Linked DNA regions of Homo sapiens: regions 2 and 3 are each linked to region 1. The links are contacts of gene promoters, found by promoter capture Hi-C in blood cells and fetal thymus (Javierre and others, 2016). All regions are on one chromosome and are shown on one strand. Each heading gives the region's core, a stretch centred on a gene start or on the middle of the fragment in contact. The rest is flanking DNA. Distances are from core to core; before and after follow the strand shown.

The links. Contacts are between HindIII fragments. The CHiCAGO score rates a contact against its expected background, and 5 or more counts as called.
Region 2: a fragment that was not itself captured here is called in contact with the fragment with the promoter of PTPRM in region 1 in 1 of 17 cell types (endothelial precursors); the score reaches 7.7 in endothelial precursors.
Region 3: a fragment that was not itself captured here is called in contact with the fragment with the promoter of PTPRM in region 1 in 2 of 17 cell types (M0 macrophages and fetal thymus); the score reaches 5.7 in M0 macrophages.

What each region holds. Positions count from the first base shown.
Region 1 is chr18:7,565,996-7,568,767 of GRCh38, reverse strand. It overlaps PTPRM (protein tyrosine phosphatase receptor type M), which reads right to left and starts at 1,452. Exons shown (of 33, transcript NM_001105244.2): 1 at 877-1,452. The coding sequence starts at 949. RefSeq lists a silencer at 1,402-1,771. The HindIII fragment of the contact is 6,488 bases long and covers 1-2,772 here.
Region 2 is chr18:8,483,809-8,486,580 of GRCh38, reverse strand. No RefSeq gene overlaps it. Among named protein-coding and RNA genes, the nearest start is that of RAB12, 120 kb to the left of the region's middle. The HindIII fragment of the contact is 4,223 bases long and covers 1-2,772 here.
Region 3 is chr18:8,400,137-8,402,908 of GRCh38, reverse strand. The region is part of intron 32 of PTPRM (protein tyrosine phosphatase receptor type M); the gene reads right to left. It overlaps LOC124904241 (a long non-coding RNA gene), which reads right to left. Exons shown (of 2, transcript XR_007066275.1): 2 at 1-2,772. Among named protein-coding and RNA genes, the nearest start is that of RAB12, 210 kb to the left of the region's middle. RefSeq lists an enhancer at 1,155-1,685. The HindIII fragment of the contact is 3,533 bases long and covers 1-2,772 here.

The DNA of each region.
Region 1 (2,772 bases), core at 203-2,702:
CCTCTGGGCTTAGAACGCCCCCGCGCGCGCGTGCAGGCACACACGCGCACACACTCACACGCTTGCTCGCACACCGCCAGTGCCTCTCCTTCCCACCTGGGACCCCCGGGCAGCCGGGCTGGATGAACAAGTTGCAGCTGGCCGCGGCGCTCCGCTAGGGGGACGAGGGTGGGGAGGGGGAGCCCAGCGGGGCGCAGGGCCGTGGCCAGGGCCTGGGGACCTGCCCGCTTCCCTCCGCGGCCGCCAAGCCCTACCGCTGGGACCGGCGAGGAACTCCCCCCAGCCTCTCCGCAGACGCTGCACGACCGCGGGGACCTCCCGGGGTCGCCAGCCGCGCCGGGCAGGGGGCGACAGGGAGGGCAGGGCACCGGGAGATCGCCGCCGCCGGAGCGGCCGCCAGTTCCCGGCGATCGCTGCGGGCGCAGCCGAACACCAGCGGCCTGGGCCCGGCCGCTGCTCGGGGTCGGCGGGGACCGCGCAGCGCCTACGCCAGGCGGCCCGGCGGCTGCAACTGGGAACTTCAAGCAAAGTTTTCTGCTGTTCCTTTTGCAGCCGGCCAGGGACTCAAGAGTGCAAGCCGCCCAACCTTGAGCACTAGCCCAGGCCGCGGAAGGACGGCGGCCGAGCTGGCAGTCCCGGCTGGGGAGCTCGCCCTCGGGGTCCGTCCGCTCCGCCCGCCCGAGGACTGGGTGCCTGCCAGCCCCACGGCCCCTCGCCCAGCGCCCGGCTCACAGGCAGAAGCGGTGTCCGGCCCGCCGCGCCCCCCGCCCGGCCCCGACGCCAGCCTTAGGGCTCTACCACCAGGGAGCTGTCGGCGTCCCGGGCGTCCCGCGCCGGCCCGCGCGCCTCGGGGGCGGCAGAGGCGGTCCCGCTTACCTGAGAACGTCTCGCCCGCCGCAGTTAGCAAAAGTCCGGCCAAAGTCGCCAGGCAAGTCCCAAGTCCCCTCATGGTGCTGAGTGCGGGCCGGGCCGCTCCCCGGCGGCGGTGGGTGGGCGCGCGAGGGCGGAGGGGGCCGGGAGCTTTGGTTCCGAGGCAGCGAGGAGAGACGGGTAAACAGCAGAGCGCTAAGCCAAGCCCCCAAAGTGCCAACAGTTGCAGAAGTCCGAACTCCAGCGGCTCCAGGGGCGCGGGCACAGGGTCCTGGGTCCTCCTCCCCTGTCCCTGGCCCCACTCGGCGTCTGGCGCCGCTGGCAGAGGGAGCGGAGGGCGAGCCCGCGGAGCCAAAATCTTCCCTCGGTTCCGGTTGCTGAGCTCGCCGCCTCTCCCCTTCCCCTGCCCGGGACCCGGGACCCGAGCTGCCGGCCGTGGCCGTGGCGGTGGCCGTGGCCGTGGCCGCGCGCGTTCCGCCCGCCGCCTCTCCACAGGCAGCCCCAAGCCCAGCCCCGGGCGGCGGCGCGCCGATGACCGAGCCCGCGCCGGCTGCGCGCGGGGCTCTTGCTCCCCGACTGACTGGCGGTGCCCCGCAGGCCGGCTGAAGGGAGCGCTCACGTCACGGCCGCCCGGCGCCGCCGCGGCCCGCTAGAGGGCGTGAGCGCCCGTGCCCCGCCGGCCCGCGCCCGAGCGCCTCCGGGAGCTCGGCTGGGGGCGGCCCCGCGGCCACAGCCACTACCGCCGCCGAAGCGGGCGTCAGCCGCGCGGGGAGGAGCGGCCACCGGGCTCCCCCCGCCCACCTCCTCGCCCCGGCCGCGTCTTCTATTTTGGTAGCTGGCTCTGGGGAGGGTGACTGTGGAAGAGGCTGCGCCGCCGCCAGAAGTTTGTCCCGGGTCACGAGCCGCGAGTAGTTTGTGAGCGCGGCCGGGCGGGACCAGCGGCCTGCGACCCCGCGGGCGCGGCCAGGCGGCTTCGAGCCTGGCGCCGGACGGCGATGTCACCGCACAGGGCCAGCTGCACCCGGAGTCGCCGGGCCTGCGCTGCTCGGCGGCTGCGGGAAAAGCGAGCCAGGAGATCGCTGAGGCTCCGGAGGGCTGCGAGCTTCTCTACGCCGCGGGCGGAGCGAAGTTGGCGGGCGCCGGGAGATGGCGCGGGAGCCGGGAGCGCCGAGCCCCGCGATCGCCAGCCCGCTCCCGGCCGGGCCCGCCGGGTACACGCCGCTGGCCCCGAGCACTGGCGCCCGGGAAGCAGGGCGCGCTTCTGCTGTTCTGCGTCCTCATCATGCCTCGGTGTCCCGTGTGGGCCCGAAGCGAGCCGCAGGCAGTACACGGAAGGCGGTGGTCACACCAAAACCAGGGTTTGGACATAACCCGTGGTTTCTGTATCTGGTGCAAAGTGCTGAGAAACAGGGGAGAAAGAGAAGTGGGGGGTGAATCAAGTAATGTCTTGAAATATTTTAGTTTTACGATTTTGGGTCTGAGTGAATTAAAAAAACCTTACAATGCTTCAGCAAAAAATAATTTTTTTATTTTAATTGTAAATTTTTTTGTAAGTGATCCTTCTATCTTCCAGGGAATAAGCACATTGAGCCAGCACCAACCAGACAGCTGTAAGCTCCTGGCCTAGCTAACTGAACGCAATAGAAGGCTTGGGAAGAGGTTAAATTAGGAACCAAAGTAACTGAGTGACAGGGTTCTAGCAATGATTCTGGCTAGAAGGCAAACCGGTGATACAGAGGCACCCAGGAGCTCTCCTGCACTTTTTCCGCAAGAGGGGTCCTCTGCTTAGTGCTCACTGCTTTCTAGTGCTTATAAACACGTAAAAAAATAAATGGATTCCACACTCATCTTGACCCTGTTCTCCACTGTACACCAGAACCAAGAAAGATACAGCTGTCATCC
Region 2 (2,772 bases), core at 166-2,665, 920 kb before region 1:
GACAGGGTTCTCACTACGTTGCCCAGGCTGGTCTCAAACTCCTGGCCTCGAGTGATCCTTTCATCTCGGCCTCCCAATATGCTGGAATTATAGGCGTGAGCCACCACATCTGGCCCCCTGAAGAATTATTGAGCCACAAGTAACCTTCTCTAATGCCCTCCTTCAGAAGTGATGATGTTTTCTATCATTAACTGTTTCCCTATGTGTCACAAACACAGTCCACCACAGAATCAACTGTCAAACTGTGAAATCACATCTTCAGTTTCCAGGGGTTTTAATAGACAGGGTCTTTCTTTAGAAAACCTGTTCTTGGGGTTTGGAGTAGCTTTCGATTTAACTGGGTCATGGTCCTCACAGAGGGAGTCATTTCCTGGTTGCCAGAGGCTGGGTTTTAGGTAATAGTTGTAGTCTTCGTCCCTACCAGGCATACTCCAGAAGTCAAGGGAAAACTTGAGTCATTTAAGTTTGAACAGGTTTTCTACTGCTTTGCCCACCTTCCTCCAGAAGTGCTAAAAGAACAGGAGCTATTAGAGTCTTTCTCACCTACCTGACCTCTGAAAGCTGGGACTCCTGAAGGCTCAGGCAGCCCAGAGTCATCTTCTCTTTTCTTCCCATACTTTCTTCCCATATGACTGCATAAGTTACCCTGAATTTAAGTTTCATCTTCATGCTGCTGTCTCAAGTCCATGCATTTCAGCCTAGATCTCTCCTCTGAGATACGAGTCGACATATCCAACTTCTGGAGAGAGACCAGCCTAGACCAAGTGTTGGAATGAAGGTTGTTGGTGTGTGGGAGGGGTACATCAGGATGATATTATTCAGCCTTTTGATTTCCCAGAAGAGTATTCTGAGACCCCCAGGGTTCAGGGTTATGTTCATTTGGCATTTTCAGACAACCTCCTGTTGTATCTGTCTGAAACACTGCAATTAATTTTGCATGTCTTAAAAATCTCTTTATTTCCCCCCCAAACCACCTCTTCATGACCCAGCTTTGCCTCTGACAGTGAGTGGCACCATGACTTTCCACTTCCTTAAGCTGGAACTGAGGAGTTACACCTGACTCCCCCACTTCCATCATTAGTCCATCAGCAAGTCCTATCAGTTCTCCTTCAAAAATAAGCCTCAAATTTGCCCATTTCTTGCTACGGCCACCATCTCTACCTGGTCCATGCCACTGTGATGGAGGGCTTGGACCACTACAGCAGCCTCCTTTTAGTCTTTTCTTGTTCCAGTCCAAAAAGCAAAAAAAAGTGACCATCCTAAAATGTAACTCGAAACCCAAGAGGACCTAAGAAAACAGCATGTCAGAAGCTCAAAGCGGCAGAGCTGATGGTGAATTTGCAGAGCCCAGGGGCCCCCCGGGTGGCTGGAAGGCAGACTGTGAGGAGCTGATGAGAAACAGTTACCGCTGAGGGAGTCAGCCAGTGCCCAGTGCACAAAGCTGTGCATCAAGTTCTGTGGAGCCGGAGAGCAACGCACATGGGCAGTGGGTGCTGTCCTTCTATGGTGGCACCGGTTGCAGCCAGCACTGTGTTCTGTGAACCAAGACATAGCCCTGAAGCCCTGAGCCTCGAATGAAAGAGTTGGAGAGATGATCACTGTGGTCCCTTTCGGCTCTGTTAATCTGTCATCCTGCGACTTTAGACAGGACTTGGATTGTGTCTTGCTGCACTTCATACCGGGGGCCTGTCCTGGTAGCTGGACCATCCTTGATTTAGTGCATTAGTTTTACGGAGGCCCTGGCTCACCTAATGCCCACGTTGAAGTAACAATTTTTCTCTGACAATCTCTCCCTTTCCTTCTCCCCCCTTCTCTTCCTTCCTGGTAGCCTTTATCCTCCATGAAGTTGAGTGTTCAGGCTGCTGCTTGGCTGTCAAGGGCCTTCCTGATTTCGGACATGTCTCCCCATACCCTAGGTGGACGAGAACTAATGTTGTAAATTTCTATTGTTTATAAGGTACCCAGTCTATGGTATTTTGTTATAACAGTGTGACTGGACTAAGACAGCTAGCCAAGTTACCAAATCATGAATAAGAGTAGGGTAAAAAGATTTTAGACCTACAAGTTCTCAAATTTCATTCTCCATGTACTCTTCTAAGGAAGCTACTGGAAGATGTCCTCCTCCAAAATAAGCAAGTGAGTCAAGAAGAGGAAGACATGGGATTTACCCAGGAAAAGAGGTATAGGGACATCAGGAAAGCAGCCGAGGTTATAATGGGCTGGACACCAAGAAGGAGGTCTTAAGAAAGAAGATGAAATTGATCAGATGCTCTGAGGCATTTGAATAGATTGTAAGGAGATACTACAAGTGGTAGGGAATTGAGGATAAATTAATAATCAAAGAAAACAAAAATGAAAATTTATAGAAGGGACATTTAATTACTGTACCTATGTGGCTCAGCTGTGAATAATATTTAATTATAATAACGTAAACCTTGATGTTGGTGTGTGTTTATGTGGGTTGGGGTAAAAAAAAGAGCTATATATTCATCTTCTATAACAGAAACCAACAGGCACTATCTAAAAATTTTTTTAAAAGTCAAAAAATCACAGTATTCCCATTTATTTAGAAATATGGAGTCAAAAACCATAAGGAAAACTTAAAAGAGTGGTTGCTTTCTAGGAAATCAGAACTGAGAGTGAGGAAGGGTGGAGAGAGAGATGCCTCTTTTTTGTTATAAGCCTTATAAAACTATTTGACTTTTAAAAACACTTATATACATAAAACTGCATGAAAGGGAGGAAAGGAAGAAAGAAAAAGGAGGCAATGGG
Region 3 (2,772 bases), core at 127-2,626, 830 kb before region 1:
TTTCCCTTAAATAGACCACTTTTTCCACACACAATGCCAATAAAGGTAGAAGTATTTTTTTAACTTTTTAACTGGAAAAAATTATTTCTTGCCCTGGGCAAAATTAGATTTCTGATTCATATTCTAGTATTTATTATTTCAGGATTTGATACTTTTATTTTCAGAATATTTAAAAGAGATAATTGGAATTTCAAAATTCCAAAAGGCCACGTTGTCAGATCACCAGGCCGACATCTTGGCTGTGAAGTGCTCCCATCATGCTTTTGTGAATCACAGGGACAATTCTTTCTGTAATGGAAATCTACACGGTCCCATCCCTTACTGCATAAAAAAGATTTTATACAAGCCTAATTGTGCAATTAATTTCAGTGGCTACTCAGAGCCATCCTTTTAACATATTTCCTTTTAACATGTTAAAATGCACCTAGTGGAGAGATGTGGCTGCTGCCCTCAGGCCACAACACAGGCCGGAAACTCAGGAGGGATTTTGGGCTTCGCTGCTAAGGAGCTGCTGCTTGGAAGTCACCGAAGCTGCCCTGTCTCAGGCATGACTATAATTTTCAAAATGAATTCTCCCTCTCCCACCTTATCCTTCCTGAGCAAGCACCCAGTCCCCATAGATTCTGTGATGACTGGTTTCTGAATCAGAAAAATAAGGGGAAAGAGAAGGAAGACCACAAATTGTTGTGTCCCCTCCCCCAAGCACCTGGGTAAATGCCTGAAATCTTCCTACATTGGAAACTGATTACATTTGATTACCAGGTATAGGTCTATCTGCTGCAGTTTCCTCTCTCAGCTCACTCCCTTTTGAACAGTATAATTAAGCCACATGAGCCATCCCTGTGCTCCAGGGGAAAAAGGAATGTTTAGGCCTTGGTCCTGAGTGCTCCAATTTGGGTGACATTAGCTGGCTTCGGGCATGAGGAGGTGCCCTGAGTAGGGGCTCAGGTGGGAGCCTGGCCCGGTCCTCCTCACATCCTTGGGTCAGACCGTAACCAGGGCAACCTGCTGCTATTCCTCACCAAGGTCCCTGACGCTGGCCCCGCTCCCGATCAGACTTCCTGTACCTATGAGTGGGAGAAAGCAAAATGTGCAAGGGAACTGGAAATTGAGGTTGGCTGTTAAAAGCCACTGCTAGCTTGGTGAGGGCGTCACGAGGCCAGCACACCAGCGGGCGGCACTGGGGGCCTCCGTCAGGGGCCCGAGCCTTGTCGTCTGCGCAGGCTGCCTGTGTCTAAGGAACTCAGGCTGGCGGCCAGCGTGGGCACTTCAAACACCACATCAACGGCCTCCAAAGGTTCAAAGAGAATAGCCTCCACCTCTGACCTGGTTGCTTTTGAAACTAAGGCAAGCTCTATGATTTTGGCTAGACCCTGAACGGACAGATCCTTCGGGCTGGAAAAATTCTTCTGAGTGATGCCCTGCCAGAAGGGCAGCGTGGGCCCTATTACCGTGGTGGGATCCCTCAGTTCAGTGTTCCCAGCCAGGTTGTGGCCAGCCACTCTGTGCCAAGGAGACCAATAAATTCTCATCCCTGCTCAGCGAGACAGCAGCATGTCCCTGGAATGATGAGTGGCTCATTCCCTTAATCTCTATCTTTAATACCTATAGGTAGAACTTTCTTCACCAAAGCCCCCTGCAAAATCCATGCCCAGTTCCTTATTGAGGCCCTGCTGAGCACAGCCACAACCTCCCCTAGGTTGGAGAGGGCAGCAAAGGGTGGCTCAGGTTGGACTCAGGTCTGGCTGCAGAGAAGAATGGTTCAGTCACTCAGAAAATGCTTACTGGGAAACTCCTGGGAGCCAGGCGCTTGGCTGGTGCTGAGTGTAGGGGGCAGGATGGGCAAGTGGAATCTGGGGGTGGGGAGAGGGGATGGGGTATTAGCAAAAATTATTACAAACCTTCCTCAACAGTGCAGGAAGACTGACCATGGGTGGATTCAAGGTGCCTGGAGTGTGGATTGGGGACCCTAGCTCACCTCTGATTCCCACCCAACTCCTGCACTCACCACCCCAACACATGCACACACACATGCACAGCCGTTAAATAGGCTGCAAATTTCACAGCAAGAGCTATTGAGGGACAGCCTATACACACCAGTTGGTGGCACAAGGGGGAGAGCTGTAGGCCCCACACCACATTGCATTTTGTATGTGAGTCCATTGTTGGCTTACTAAAGGGGAGGTGAGGCTGAGTCTGGAGGGTCGGCTGTAAGTTACAGAGGGGGCAACCTGAACCTGTGCGGCAGATCCGCAGATCAGGATGGGGCCTGGCTCTGGAGTAAGTGGGACGGAGGGGGAGGGGGCGGCGAGCTGTGAACACCGCCGCATGGCACTGCAGGGAAGGGAGAGGCCCGCTGATCCTCCTACACCAACTTTCTCAGCCGTGTGGCACGTCTATCCTACCTGGCGGGGGCTCCATCTCAGAGCCTCTGGCTGAAGTGGGCTGGGGCAGGCCTGTGCACTGGTATTTCTGAAAGCTCCCCCGGGAGTTGGGGGTGGGCGGATTCTCAAGTGCAGCCTGGGCTGATACTGCGTCTAGAGCAGACATGGTTCTTAAGCTAGGCTGCACATGAGACTCACCAGGGGCTTTTAACACTCGGCTGCTGCAGCCAGGCCCCTGACCAATCGAATCAGTCTCCAGGTGGGCCCAGGGATCAGAATTGTTCTAAAGCTCCCAGATGACTTCAGTGGGCAACCAGGCTTGAGAACCACTGAGGAGATGCTCTTTTCTGAATCTTACAAGGCACGTGATGGTGGACGGGGCTGTTCC